Regions from separate parts of the Homo sapiens genome. Here region 2 is linked to region 1. Evidence: promoter capture Hi-C in human tissues and cell types (Jung and others, 2019). All regions are on one chromosome and are shown on one strand. The core of a region is centred on a gene start or on the middle of the fragment in contact, and the rest is flanking DNA. Distances in the headings are between cores, read along the strand shown. Region 1 holds the start of RGS4 (regulator of G protein signaling 4). Region 2 has its middle 28 kb from the start of RGS5-AS1.

Region 1 (6,216 bases), core at 2,196-4,695:
TCTAGAAAAAATAGAGAGAAACAGAATAATTGGAATGCCATGGTAAAAAAATTGGGGCAAGAAATCTAAGATCCTGAATGAAGGCAAAGATTTTATTTTCCATCGTTATGACAAAATATGTTATTGATGAGGGCAGTTTTTCACTAAATGTATAGAAATTTCAAATGTAGTTATGATCTCCATGAAAATGGAGGCTATCTTGATCCAAATCTGGCTTAACTAGGAGCACAAGTTCCTTCTCACAGAACATCCCCATCATCAGATAGTTAATACTAAGTACATCTTCACCAAGGCCTTTTCTCTTACCTCTGGCAAATAACCACTTTGTCCTTCTTGTTGTGGGAAGAATTGTGTTCACAGGAATCAGATTTTTGCAGCAGGAAACCTAGCCGATGTTTCATATCTTTTGCACTGCACAGAAGAGAAAAAAATGAATAAATAGTAATAACCAGCTTTCTTTAAAAGATACCTAATGGTAGAGCTTGAAGAGTCCATTACTAGTCTATGGCTCAGAGACAGTTTAGGGAACGGGAGTTGGAGTTGGCATGACCTCTGAGGAAAACAAGATTCCTCTTGGTTCCCTATGACTTGCTACAAAACCTTGAGGCAGTCATAACACCATTTCCTTCATCCACAACTGGAATTCTGACCCTTCAGTTTACCTCAGAAACCTGAGAAGCCTTTATATGCCCGTCATTTTGACCAACCGAATATCTTTGGTATCTTCAACAGAACCTGAATCACTGAACACATGAGTGATCTCTGAGTAATTTTTAGGAATCAGAAAGCAGTAGCGGCAAAAGATGCACATCCTTGCTGCACGCCACCTTCTGGCAGGTGATTGCTATTTCCATCTGTTCCCCTGCTGGCAGAGGGAACTGTAGAAGCACCTCGGGAAAGTAAAAGTCTATTCAGTTCCAGCCATGTATGTTGGGGGGGGGGGGGGGGGGCAAGCAGTTCCTGCTGTGAGGTATAGAGGGAGAATACACTGAGGTGCACAGTTCCAGCAGAGGGAAATGGAGCATGGGATGGCGAAAACAAATGCCCAAGCTGAAACCTCAGCTTCTTGGGGCTTCTTTCTAGACAATATCTGCTGCTGCTGCTTTCCTTCTTAATAGCTACTTTAAAGGACATACACACTCTAAAGGGCATTTGAGGCTTAACAGCTATTAGGAGAAGCAGGCTAGAGTCATCACTGAGCTTCCAGTTTATTGCCACCATTTAATAGGTAGCCAGGGCACATTAGAGCTCCTGACTAACTAGAAAAAGGGGGTCTTTTAATAAGCCTTAAGCTCAACTCTCTTACTTTTTATTAAATATCCTCTTGCTTGCATCTCTTTTTATTAAAAAAGTCAAGAAATAGTTTAAAAAGAGAAATACCATTTTAAAAGAAATGAATAACTAAATGTGTCTATTTGGAGTAGGGAAAATAAAGCCTCAAAGATATAAAGACATTTAGGATGGCCACTAATACATTTATGTATGTAGGTTTTCCCAGAAAGTTTGAATTCCATTATGTTCTCTGACTGTCCCTTAAATAGTATTTTCTCTTCCTCGCAAGATTACTTTCCCTCCTCTGCTTCCCTGACTGATGACTGTTCAGGGGATGCAACATCCTTTTTGATTATAACAAGATACAATCCTGAATGTTAGGGTGATTCCAAGGTGATAATGTAAATATATCATGAAGTCCAAATAGAAACGAATTCATATTTCTATGTGCTGGATCCACCTGAGATCCTAGAGTTATTAATCAATGCAGGGGGTAAGTGTGCTTAGCAAGTATTCTTATAATAAAACCATAAAAATAAAAAACAAAATGACTTCAGAAGTTACTGGAGTCAGGAATTCTAGATTTGGTCCTAACTCACCCACCACCTATGTGACCTTGAGAAGGCAATGGCTCCTCTGGAGCCTCAGGCACTGGTGGTAAAGATGTTGGACTAGATGATTTGCAATTTATTGAGGAGGAAAGGGAAGAGCAGTTCATCCTGCTGACATAGAGTTTACCTCCTTAGATTAGCTGCTTAACTCTTTGAGGACAGAGCTCTAGTATTATCTTTTATCTGTTTTGCAAAATATTTACCAGAGCATAACTTTCTCCTGACACTCTTGTATTTTTGTACGGTTCATTTCATATGCAAGTTAAGTGAAGCTTGAAGTAATTTGCTCCACTCCATTCAGAAAATTAAGCGTGAAGGTCAGAGGAACTTATTTCATAGATACTCTCTGCCAGACCCTCCTGCTTCATTTTAAAGAAGCCATCGATACTTCCATACTCCTGAATGACAGAATATTTGGAAAGTAAATGTTTTAATAGTACATAAAAAATTATGTTTTCTGAGATTATTTCCAAAATAAAATTTGTGGTAATTTCTATTTGCAGTGCGATAAGAAAGCAGGTAGTATACCTTTAGGTTGACTTTTTACCTTTGACTGCAAGATTAAGTAATGTAATATGCACTCATTTTGTGTTTAATTTTCAACTGGCTAATATATGATCTTTCTCTGAATGCATTTCTTTATACCTTTTTTGAACAAACCAAAAACAAATGAATAGCTGTATGTCTGTAAGGTCTTTTAAAAAAATCAAGGGAGTATATTAACAAAACAATGTCTTTAAGATGAGATCTTCTACAAAACTATTAACTGATTTGTAATGATCAATATTTCTCAACCAAACTCATATGAGACACTTCAAGAACTAGAGATGGGGCAGAGAGATAAGGAAGATCTGGCTTTAAAACTCATATCTCATTGTAACATTTGCTTATAAGAACATAGAGAGTGAAAGTTACTGCACCACCACACGGAAAGCATAGTGCCTTTCTGATGATGGAGCCAAACCTCATTCTGGGGTACCTTTCCTGAAACAAGTTGTAGCATACAATCAGAAAGCCCAGAGCCAGGCTTCTATGTACTCCAGGGATGCTCAAATAGCAGTAGTAATCACAGATGGAGATATTACAGATCACTGTACATAGCCTCAAACCTCATCTCGCTTCTTAATTAAAACTAGCTTTCTTAGACCTGGCTTAAAGAATAGAACAGTTCTCAAAACTGAGGTCACACAAAACAACACATAAGGGCTGAAATTTGGGGAGCACATGTCTTAAGTCACAATATCTAGCTAGTCTTGGAGGAAAGTTAGAAAGTCGTGCTCTCCTGACCACACTGTTTCTAATTGCACAGAACTAGGTTAGTAAGTACAACATGTAAATAACTGAGAAAGTCTAGCCAAAAGTTTAATATGGTTAATGGCTGAAAGCAATCTTACCTCCTCAAGCAAGAAGCCGGCAGACCTGCAAGCCCTTTGCACATCTTATTTAACAGCTTGGAATTCGCAAGCAGGAAAGAAATGCGGCAGGAGGAGCTGTGGCTTCGGCTTTGAGCGTACTTTGCCTCTTCTCCGGTAAAGATATTGTCAGAATCCTCTGAGCGTCTTCCTGCTAAGCCTGTAGGGGTCTCTTTTATAGCCCAGCTACGACCGTCCAGCCAATCAGACGACCGCTCTGCAGTACCAGCTCCTCTGTCTCCCTCTGCCTCTCCAGCCCCTGAAAGAGATGAGGAAGAAAAGACTGACGCATCAGCAATGTTAAGTGAACGAGCAGAGAAAATCCTTCTGAAAAGTAGGGATATGGGAAAAAATGTACTCAATGTCTCCACCAATGTCAGAGGTTTAGAATTTCTAGAAAAGGAAAAAAAGTGTACAATGCTGCAAAATATAGTTTTTATTCATATGCCTGTAAAAAAAAAATATCAAGGAAGTTGCTTCCTGGAAGGAAAAGTACCAGCAGGAATTCTGGAGCTTACTTAGGAGCTGACTCCCAATGCCTTTCCTCTTTTGGATTAGAAGCATCATATTATACATGGTCCAAGATCTGATCCTCACGATTTCCAAAAGGGAGCTGGCAGGATCATCGTCTCCACGCAGTGATTTGCGGAAGTTGCCTTGGTTGTTATGCAAACAAGAAGGTGGAGAGAAATAGCTGGATGACAGACAGTTATAAGCCCGGCAGCATACAGAAACTACCCTAGGAAAAATAGATTTGCTATATCTGTAATCAACCTGACTGAGGAATACTTTTCTAGAAATCTTGGTAACAACAGAATTCAGCCTAGCACTGACAGTTTCTCCTTCACATGCCTGCGTCCTGTAAAAAGTCTAAACCGGCAGCTCGAGGACCAAAGGAGGGAGTAGATGAGCAAATATACACAGCAATTCTTATATCAAATGGGTTTATGTCTTATGTAATTCTAAGTCTCCAAACTGATATTTCAAAAGATAAAGAAAGAGAGATGTAGAGAGAAAGAGAGAGAGCAGGCAGAAAAATATGTAGTTTGCTTTGCGTATCACCAGCCTTCAAACTGATTGTAAGAATATTAAGCCCTATAGGTGTTTCTGAACACCTAGACAATCAGTATCTTTTACATACAATATCATGAACTGAAATGCCTGCATGGACAGAATCATTCAGGTGTTTCACATCTTATAGCCATAAACCAAATACCTACACCAGAGTTACAGAGGAAAGCTATAAGTGGAAGAAGGGAATTAATTGCTAGATCTGACCAAAACAGCTTTCATTTAGAAAGCAGATAGGTTCCTGATCATAGGCTACAGTGAGCTATACTTTATATATAAGAAACAGAGGCATCAAATAGTTTAGGTGGAAGAGATGAAAAATAGTTGGGTTCCAGTGAGATGCAAAATACCAAAAATATAGAAAGAATGGCACAAAGCAATGCCCATATGTGGCCCTACCCAATACGTGCCCTTGAACATCCCACACTGCCCCCACTACCAACACGTTCCATGACTAGCAGAGCAAGGAGACAGCAGACAAATGTAAAGTGGTGGAGGGACCATAATCTACAGAAGATGCATTTAAATTATAGGAAAAAGTCTCTAGCCGCCCATAAGAGGGCATTTATTGGATTAGCTACTGGGCAACTTTTCCTTGAATTATAACATAGAACAAATGAATGTTGACAGCCATCCTTGATGGTGGTGTGGAAGGAACTGAAGTGCAATATGAAACTAGGAAGGCCCTCAGACCAAGGAAGATGGACCAGGGAAATGAATCAGTCAGAACTGACATTAAAGAGGTCAGACTAATTAAAAGGGAAAGAAGGTCACTCAAAGAAAGACCATGGCCTTCTTTGTTTACCTGGGCACCTAAAAGAGTGATCACTCAAATAGATTGATTTCAGGAACATAAGTGAGTACCCAAAAAGATTTACTGATGCCTGAAATTCCACAATAAAAGTTTTATGTCTTGCACTTAGAATAAGAGAAGCCTGATTTGTCATGAGTTAAATATAAATCACTGCAATAGATGGGACTTTAAAGACAAAATGGGACTTCAAAGGCAATCTAGCCTAACACTCTCATTTCACCAAAAAGGAAATAGAGACCCAGAAAGAGAAAGTGACTTGCTGAGGTTACAGCTTCTTACTAACAGAGCTGGGTCCAGATACAGGTGTCTCGATACTCAGTTATGTGGATTGTCCACCATGCTATCCCATCACTCAACAGTCTTATCAAATAAGGTAAACTGTGTAAATAGAGATATTTCTAAACTACAAAGTGCTAGTCAAATAATTTTTATCATTCTATTATACACAGTATAGAACATAACCCAAAATTAATTTTACACATTTTATTCAAGGAGTGTTCACTTGCCCAATTTGTTCTTGCTCCTTGAAAGCAGGAGCTGCTGCTTTCAAGACATATTAACTAACATGTCTCTAACTTTGTGCTTAGCTCATTACTCTGTTCAGGCATTTCATGTTTACTCACTTCTTTGACTATTAAATCTTGCTTTCTTAGGAGTTTTAAGACTTTTAAAAAAGTGTTTGTAAAACGCTTCACATGAGTTAACTTACTTTTTCACTGTGGGACTTGCAGATTGTGTTTGAGGAGGCGAGGACTGGTACATCATGATACCTTGACAACCTTCCACCTTCTTTCTCTGATATGCACAAAGCATCAAATTCTGTTATTCTATGATTTGTCATTCCTGAATGACTCTGGTAGTGTGGAAGAGCTTTACTCTCAAAAGATCTACTTTTTATTTGTTCATTTGTTTAAGAAATATCTTTTGACCACCTACTCTGTATCAGGTGCTGTTTGAAGCAGTACCTGATACAAGCAGATAAAATCTCCGCTCTAGTAGAGTTTTCATCTCAGTAGAAGGAGTCAGAAAATAAACA
Region 2 (6,498 bases), core at 2,615-5,114, 64 kb before region 1:
CAAGATAGGCAACAGACTTAAAAGAGATCCCAAAGGTATAGATGGCATATTTTAGTAAAAACTTAATCAGTGGCTCTTTGAACTGTAAGTACAGACATCAGAAAATGGTGTATATGCCATGCAACCTCAAATTATACTACAAGGCTACAGTAACCAAAACAGCATGGTACTGGTACAAAAACAGATACACAGACCAATGGAACAGAATAGAGAACTCAGAAATAAGACTGCACATTTACAGCCATCTGATCTTCAACCCTGACAAGAACAAGCAATGGAGAAAGGATTCCCTATTTAATAAATGGTGCTGAGAGAACTGGCTAGCCATATGCAGAAAATTGAAACTGGACCCCTTCCTTATGCCATTTACAAAAATTAACTCAAGATGAGTTAAAGACTTAATCGTAAAACCCCAAACTATAAAAACCCTAGAAGAAAATCTAGGCAATATCATTCAAGACATAGGCATGGGCAAAGATTGCATAACAAAATCACCAAAAGCAATCGTAACAAAAGCAAAAATTGACAAATGGGATCTAATTAAACTAAAGAGCTTCTGCACAGCAAAATAAACTCTCATCAGAGCCAACAGGCAACCTACAGAGTGGAAGAAGAACTTTGCAATCTATCCATCTGACAGAGGTCTAATATCCAGATTCTATAAGGAACTTAAACAAATTTACAAGAAAAAAACAATTAACCCCATTAAAAAGTAGGCAAAGGAAATGAACAGATACTTCTCAAAAGAAGACATTTGTGCAGTATATGAAAACATATTAAAAAAAGCTCAACATCACTGATCATTAGAGAAATGCAAGTCAAAACCACAGTGAAATACCATCTCAGGCTAGTCAGAATGATGATTATTAAAAAATCAAGAAAAAAAACAGATGCTGGTGAGGTTGTGGAGAAATAGGAAGGCTTTTACACTGTTGGTGGGAATGTAAATTAGTTCAACCATTGTGGAAGATGGTGTGGCGATTCCTTAACGATCTAGAACCAGAGATACCTTTTGACCCAGCAATCCCATTACTGGGTATACACCCAAAGGAATATAAATCATTCTATTACAAAGATGCATGCACATATATGTTCATTGCAACACTGTTTACAATAGCACAGACATGGAATCAACCCAAATGCCCACCAATAATAGACTGGATAAAGAAAATGAGGTACATATACACCATGGAATACTATGGAGCCATAAAAAGGAATGAGATCATATCCTTTGCAGGGACATGGATAGAGCTGGAAGCCATTATCCTCGCAAACTAAGGGAGGAACAGAAAACCAGACGCTGGATGTTCTCACTTATAATTGGGAGCTGAACAGTGAGAACACATGGACACAGGGAGGGGAACAACACACTGGGGGCCTGTCGGGGTGGGGTTGGAGGAAGGGAGGGCATTAGGAAAAATAACTAACGCATGCTGAGCTTAATACCTAGGTGATGGGTTAATAGGTTCAGCAAACCATCATGGCACACATTTACCTATGTAACAAACCTGCACATCCTGCACATGTACCCCAGAACTTAAAATAAAACTAAAAAAAAAAAAAAATGGCGTATAGGTAATATGAGGCTTTAGGGCTGGAAGAATGGCTTTTCTAATTACCACCATCATCTCCCTCTAGCTGGATTAGTATTATGTGGCTCAGAGTCACAAAATTTTAGTTGTAGGGTAGATTCTTTCTCTATGTGATCTTGGGCAGCACAAGTAACTTAACTCCCTGAACCTCTTTTTGTTCATCTGCAAAAATGGAACTACCTAGATTTCTATAACACAGTGAGGTGATGAGGAGCAAATGAAATAAAATAAAGAAAAAGGTTTTCTAACCTGTAAAATAAGGCTATTTTCTCAAATCCTCATCCAGGCCAATTTGCTTCCTTTTTTATCTTCCTGGTGTAAATCATTAGGACATGATCAGAGAAAGTAAGCAATAGGTATCACCAGGAGAGACAGCAGTAATATGTCCTTATTTCTGTCCCACTACCTCCTTCCTTCTGCCATTTCCTAAGTGTGAGCTAGAAAAAGACATAGAACCATGCCTTATTCCTGGTGTTCTTGTGCTCTGAAAGCCTAGAACATAACTTAGCCAGTTGACACAGAATTATGGTCAGTTAGCTGTTCTACTGGACATCTACTGCAGATGCTTTGGCCTCCTCAGTACCACAGTCTTCTCGATGACCTAATAATAACTACTCTTTGTGTAACTTTTCCCTATGGTATTTCACTTGATCATCTTCGCAACTCTGTGACTTGGTTAAAGTAGATAGGATTCAAGTGCTCATTTTACACATAAGAAGTCTGAAACTCAGAAAATTTAAGGGACTTGGCAAAGTCACATGGATAGTACTGGCAGAGCTGAGCCTAGAGCATGGGTCTCCACCTCCAGCTCTGGAGTTCCTTCCTTATACCAGATTCTGCAGCGTGCTGCTAACAAACTCAGCATTATAGAACCTTTTCAGGGCCAGTGATAGAGACAGAAAAAAATCTTGGGTGACATCTGTGTGCTCTGTATTGGAGATCTGTGGTATAAATGTGTGTGTATGTATACTATACATATGGTATCCCATTGTGGTTTTGATTTGCATTTCTCTAATACGTATATATTAGATAATATATATTTTATATATGAAATATATATATATACACACACACATATATATGTATATATATATAAAATCTTTTAGAGTTATTCTTGCTGGGCACAGTTTCTCATTCCTGTAATCCCAGCATTTTGGGAGGCTGAGGTGGGAGGAATGCTTGAGGCCAGGAGTTTGAAACCAGCCTGGGAAACATAGCAAGACCCTATCTCTATAAAAAATAAAAATTAGCTGGGTGTGGTGGTGGGTGCCTGTAGTCCTAGCTGTTCAGGAGGCTGAGGCAGGAGGACTGCTTGAGCCCAGATGTTCAAGGCTGTGGTAACCTATGATTGTACCACTGCATTCCAGTGTGGGTGACAGAGCAAAGCCCCAGCTCTAAAAATAATAATAATAGTAATAATAATAATAAATCCTTCTCATTAGAGATTAACACTAACAGGTTCAAAGTTTATCTAAGTGGTTAAGAAAAAAGAGAAAGATAGAGTAGCACATATGTGAAGGACTGTTCTTTAGTCTGCCATTCAGGCTTGCATACAAAGACTTTGCCTAGCTTTCTTTGTTTAAAAAAGGTGTTTGATCTCAGATTACAGCCAGCTGGACCATCTGCCACTCTTGTTTCCTCAAAGTCTGGAGCTCTTTACTAACATTTGAGGTTATGCTTTAATGTCCACTTATGGAAGCCTAATATTGTCTCATTTTGTTCATGGTTGTCTCACTTTAGTATTTAATGACTTCATACATCTGGATGTTTCCTTTACATTTCCAAATCATTTCTACATTTGTAATTTCATTAGCTTTCAAAGTCCAGTTTCTCTTCCTTCAGAGTCTTTGTAGCTAATCTGTCTCTGATGTTCCACAATTTTATTTTTTTGATATGTTTATATCATTTATTCTTGGGCTTAATCTTTGCTATCTTTTTCTGAACTTCCTCTTTTTACTACTTGAGTCCTTTCTACTACTTCTTTCTAATTTCTATGGTAGAAATTCCTCTTACTTCAAATTTAATTTGCTTATATTCTTGTTGGATACTATGCCAGATATCTTGCACATGTGATTTTATGAGACAAGAATTTTTACTCCATTTTTCTTATGAGAAACTGTATTATTCCATTTTTGCATTACTATAAATTAATACCTGATACTGAGTAATTTATAAAGAAAAGAGCTTTAATTGGCTCATGGTTCTGCAGGCTGTACAAGCATGGCACCAACATCTGCTCAGTTTCTGGTGAGAGCCTCAGGAAGCTTCCAATCATGGCTGAAGATGAAGTATGAGCAGGCACATAACATGGCAAGATCAGAAGCAAGAGGGAGAGAAGGGAGGAAGTGCTAGGCTCTTTAAACAACCAGCTCTCGTGTGAACTAATGAAATAAGAACTCACTCATTACCATGAGGAGGGCAGCACACCATTCATGAGGTATTCCCCTGACCCAAACACCACTCACCAGACCTCACCTTCCACACTAGGGATTACATTTCAACATGAGGTTTGGAGAAGACAAACATCCAAACCATATCATCCTGCCCTTGGCCCTCCAAATCTCACATCCTCCTCCCATTGCAAAATACAGTAATATCTTCCCAAGAGTCCCCTAAAGTCTTAATTCATGCCAACATCAATTCCAAAGTCTCATTTGAAACTCAAGGCAAGCTCCTTCCGCCTATGAACCTGTAAAATCAAAACCAAGTTATTTACTTCCAAGATGCAATGGTGGTACAGGCATTGGATATACATTCTCATTCCAAAAGACAGAAATTCATAAAAGAAGGTGCAATAGGCCCCACACAAATCTGGAACTCTGCAGGGTAGTCATTAAATCTTTAAGCTCCAAAATCATCTCCTTTGACTCAATGTCCACATCCAGGGCACATTGGTGCAAGAGGTGAGCACCCAAAACCTTGGGTAGCTCTGCTCCTTTAGTTTTGCAGGGTGCAGGCCCCATGGCTGCTCTCTCAGGTTGGAATTGAATGCCTAAGGCTTTTGTAGGTTCCAAATGCAAGCCGCCAATGGCTCTACCATTTGGAGGGTGGTTGCCCCCTTCCCACAGCTCAAATAGGGAGTGTTCTAGTGGGGGACTCTATTTAGGGGCTACCCCACAGATCCTCTTGGTGCTGTCCTAGTAGAGTCTCTCCATGGGGACTCTGCTTCTGTGGCAGGGTTTCTGATACATACTCTGAAATTTAGATGGAAGCTGCCAAGCCTCCTTCACTGTTGCATTCTGCAAGCCATCAGATGTAACACCATGTGAAAGATGCCGAGGCTTATGGTGGCTTTCACTCTCCAAAGCTGCAGCCCAAGCTGTATCTAGGCCCCTTTGACCCACAGCGGGAGCTAGAGCAGCCAGGATGAGGGAACAGTGTCCTGCAGCTGAGCAGTGAAGTGGCCCCCTAGGCCTGGCTGCCAAAACCATTCTTTTCTCCAAGGCTTCTAGGCCTGTGATGGGAGGGGCTTTCCTGAAGACTTCTAATTGGCTTCAAGGCCTTTTTCCCATTGTCTTGGATATTAGAAATGGCTCTCTTTTAGTCATGCTAATCTCTCTAGCAAGTGAGTGCTCTGAATCCTACTTGTATTTTTCTCCTGAAAATGCTTTTTCTTTCTCTTCCATGTGATCAGGCTTCAAATTTTCCAAAGTTTTATGGTCTGCTTCCCCTTTAAATATAAATCTTTAAGTAACTTCTTCACTCCCATATATGATTATAGGCTGTTAGAAGCGGTCAGGTCACTTCTTGAATGATTTACTACTTATAAATTTCTTTTGCCAGATAAGCTGGGTCATCAATCTTAAGTTTAAACTTCCACAAATCCCTAAGATGTGGACAGAATTCAGTTAAGCTCTTTGCTAGGGCATAACAAGGGAGACCTTTGCTCTGGTTCCCAATAACTTCTTCATTTCTATCTGAGACCTCCTCAGCCTGACCTTCACTGTCCATACTTCTATCAGCATTTGGGTCACAATCATTGAAAAAGTCTCTAAGAAATCCCAAACTTTCCCTGGTTTTCCCATCTTCTTCTGAGCCCTCCAAACTCTTCCAATTTCTGCCTGTTACCCAGTTCCACAGCTGCTTCCACATATTTAGGTATCTTTATAGCAATGCCCCACTTCTCAGTACCAGTTTTCTGTATTAGTCTGCTTTTTGCATTACTGTAAATACCTGAGATTGAGTAATTTATAAAGAAAAGAGGTTTAATTGGCTCACAGTTCTGCAGGCTACACAAGCATGGCACCAACATCTGCTCAGCTTCTGGTGAGAGCCTCAGGAAGCTTTCAATCATGGCAGAAGATGAAGCAGAAGCAGGCACATAACATGGCAAAATCAGGAGAAAGAGAGAGAGAAGGGAGGAGATGCCAGGCTCTTTAAACAACCTGCTCTCACGTGAACTAATAGAATGAGAACTCACTCACTACCATAAGGAGGGCAACATGCCATTCATGAGATGTCTTCCCCCTGACCGAAACACCTCCTACCAGGTCCTATCCCCAATATCAAGGGTTAAATTTCAACATGAGAGTTGGAGGAGACAAACATCAAGACCCATATCAGGAACTAAACCTCAGAGAGAGTCAGTGATAATTCCATGTTCATGCAGCTAGAAAGGAGCCAAGTTGGATCCTTGGGAGCTATCAACACTGAGTTTATTGTTTTCCATTCTTTCCTCTCTTAATTTTATTACGCCTTTTTTTTTGATCGTCAAACAAAGTTATTTTACACTGAAGAAGCCCTGTATTTTCTCTTTTACTTATTTTAGAAAACGTGTAATTTTTATGTGCAGAGTGCCTGTTCTTTTTTCCCTTCCTATCCACTTTTTGTTGATATTCCTCATTTATTCACTATTCCACTGAATCCTATCCAGCTCCAATTTCACTCTTATCAACCACAGACTATA

Evidence for each region. Contacts are between HindIII fragments. The study calls those that stand out against the background at their distance.
Region 2: a contact is called between a fragment that was not itself captured here and the fragment with the promoter of RGS4 in region 1, in 1 of the 25 tissues and cell types used here (heart right ventricle).

Annotation. Positions count from the first base shown.
Region 1 is chr1:163,066,590-163,072,805 of GRCh38, reverse strand. RGS4 (regulator of G protein signaling 4) reads right to left here and starts at 3,445. Exons shown (of 5, transcript NM_005613.6): 1 at 3,278-3,445; 2 at 307-411; 3 at 1. The coding sequence starts at 3,321. The HindIII fragment of the contact is 8,323 bases long and covers 743-6,216 here.
Region 2 is chr1:163,130,682-163,137,179 of GRCh38, reverse strand. No RefSeq gene overlaps it. Among named protein-coding and RNA genes, the nearest start is that of RGS5-AS1, 28 kb to the left of the region's middle. RefSeq lists an enhancer at 4,774-5,348. The HindIII fragment of the contact is 4,926 bases long and covers 1,402-6,327 here.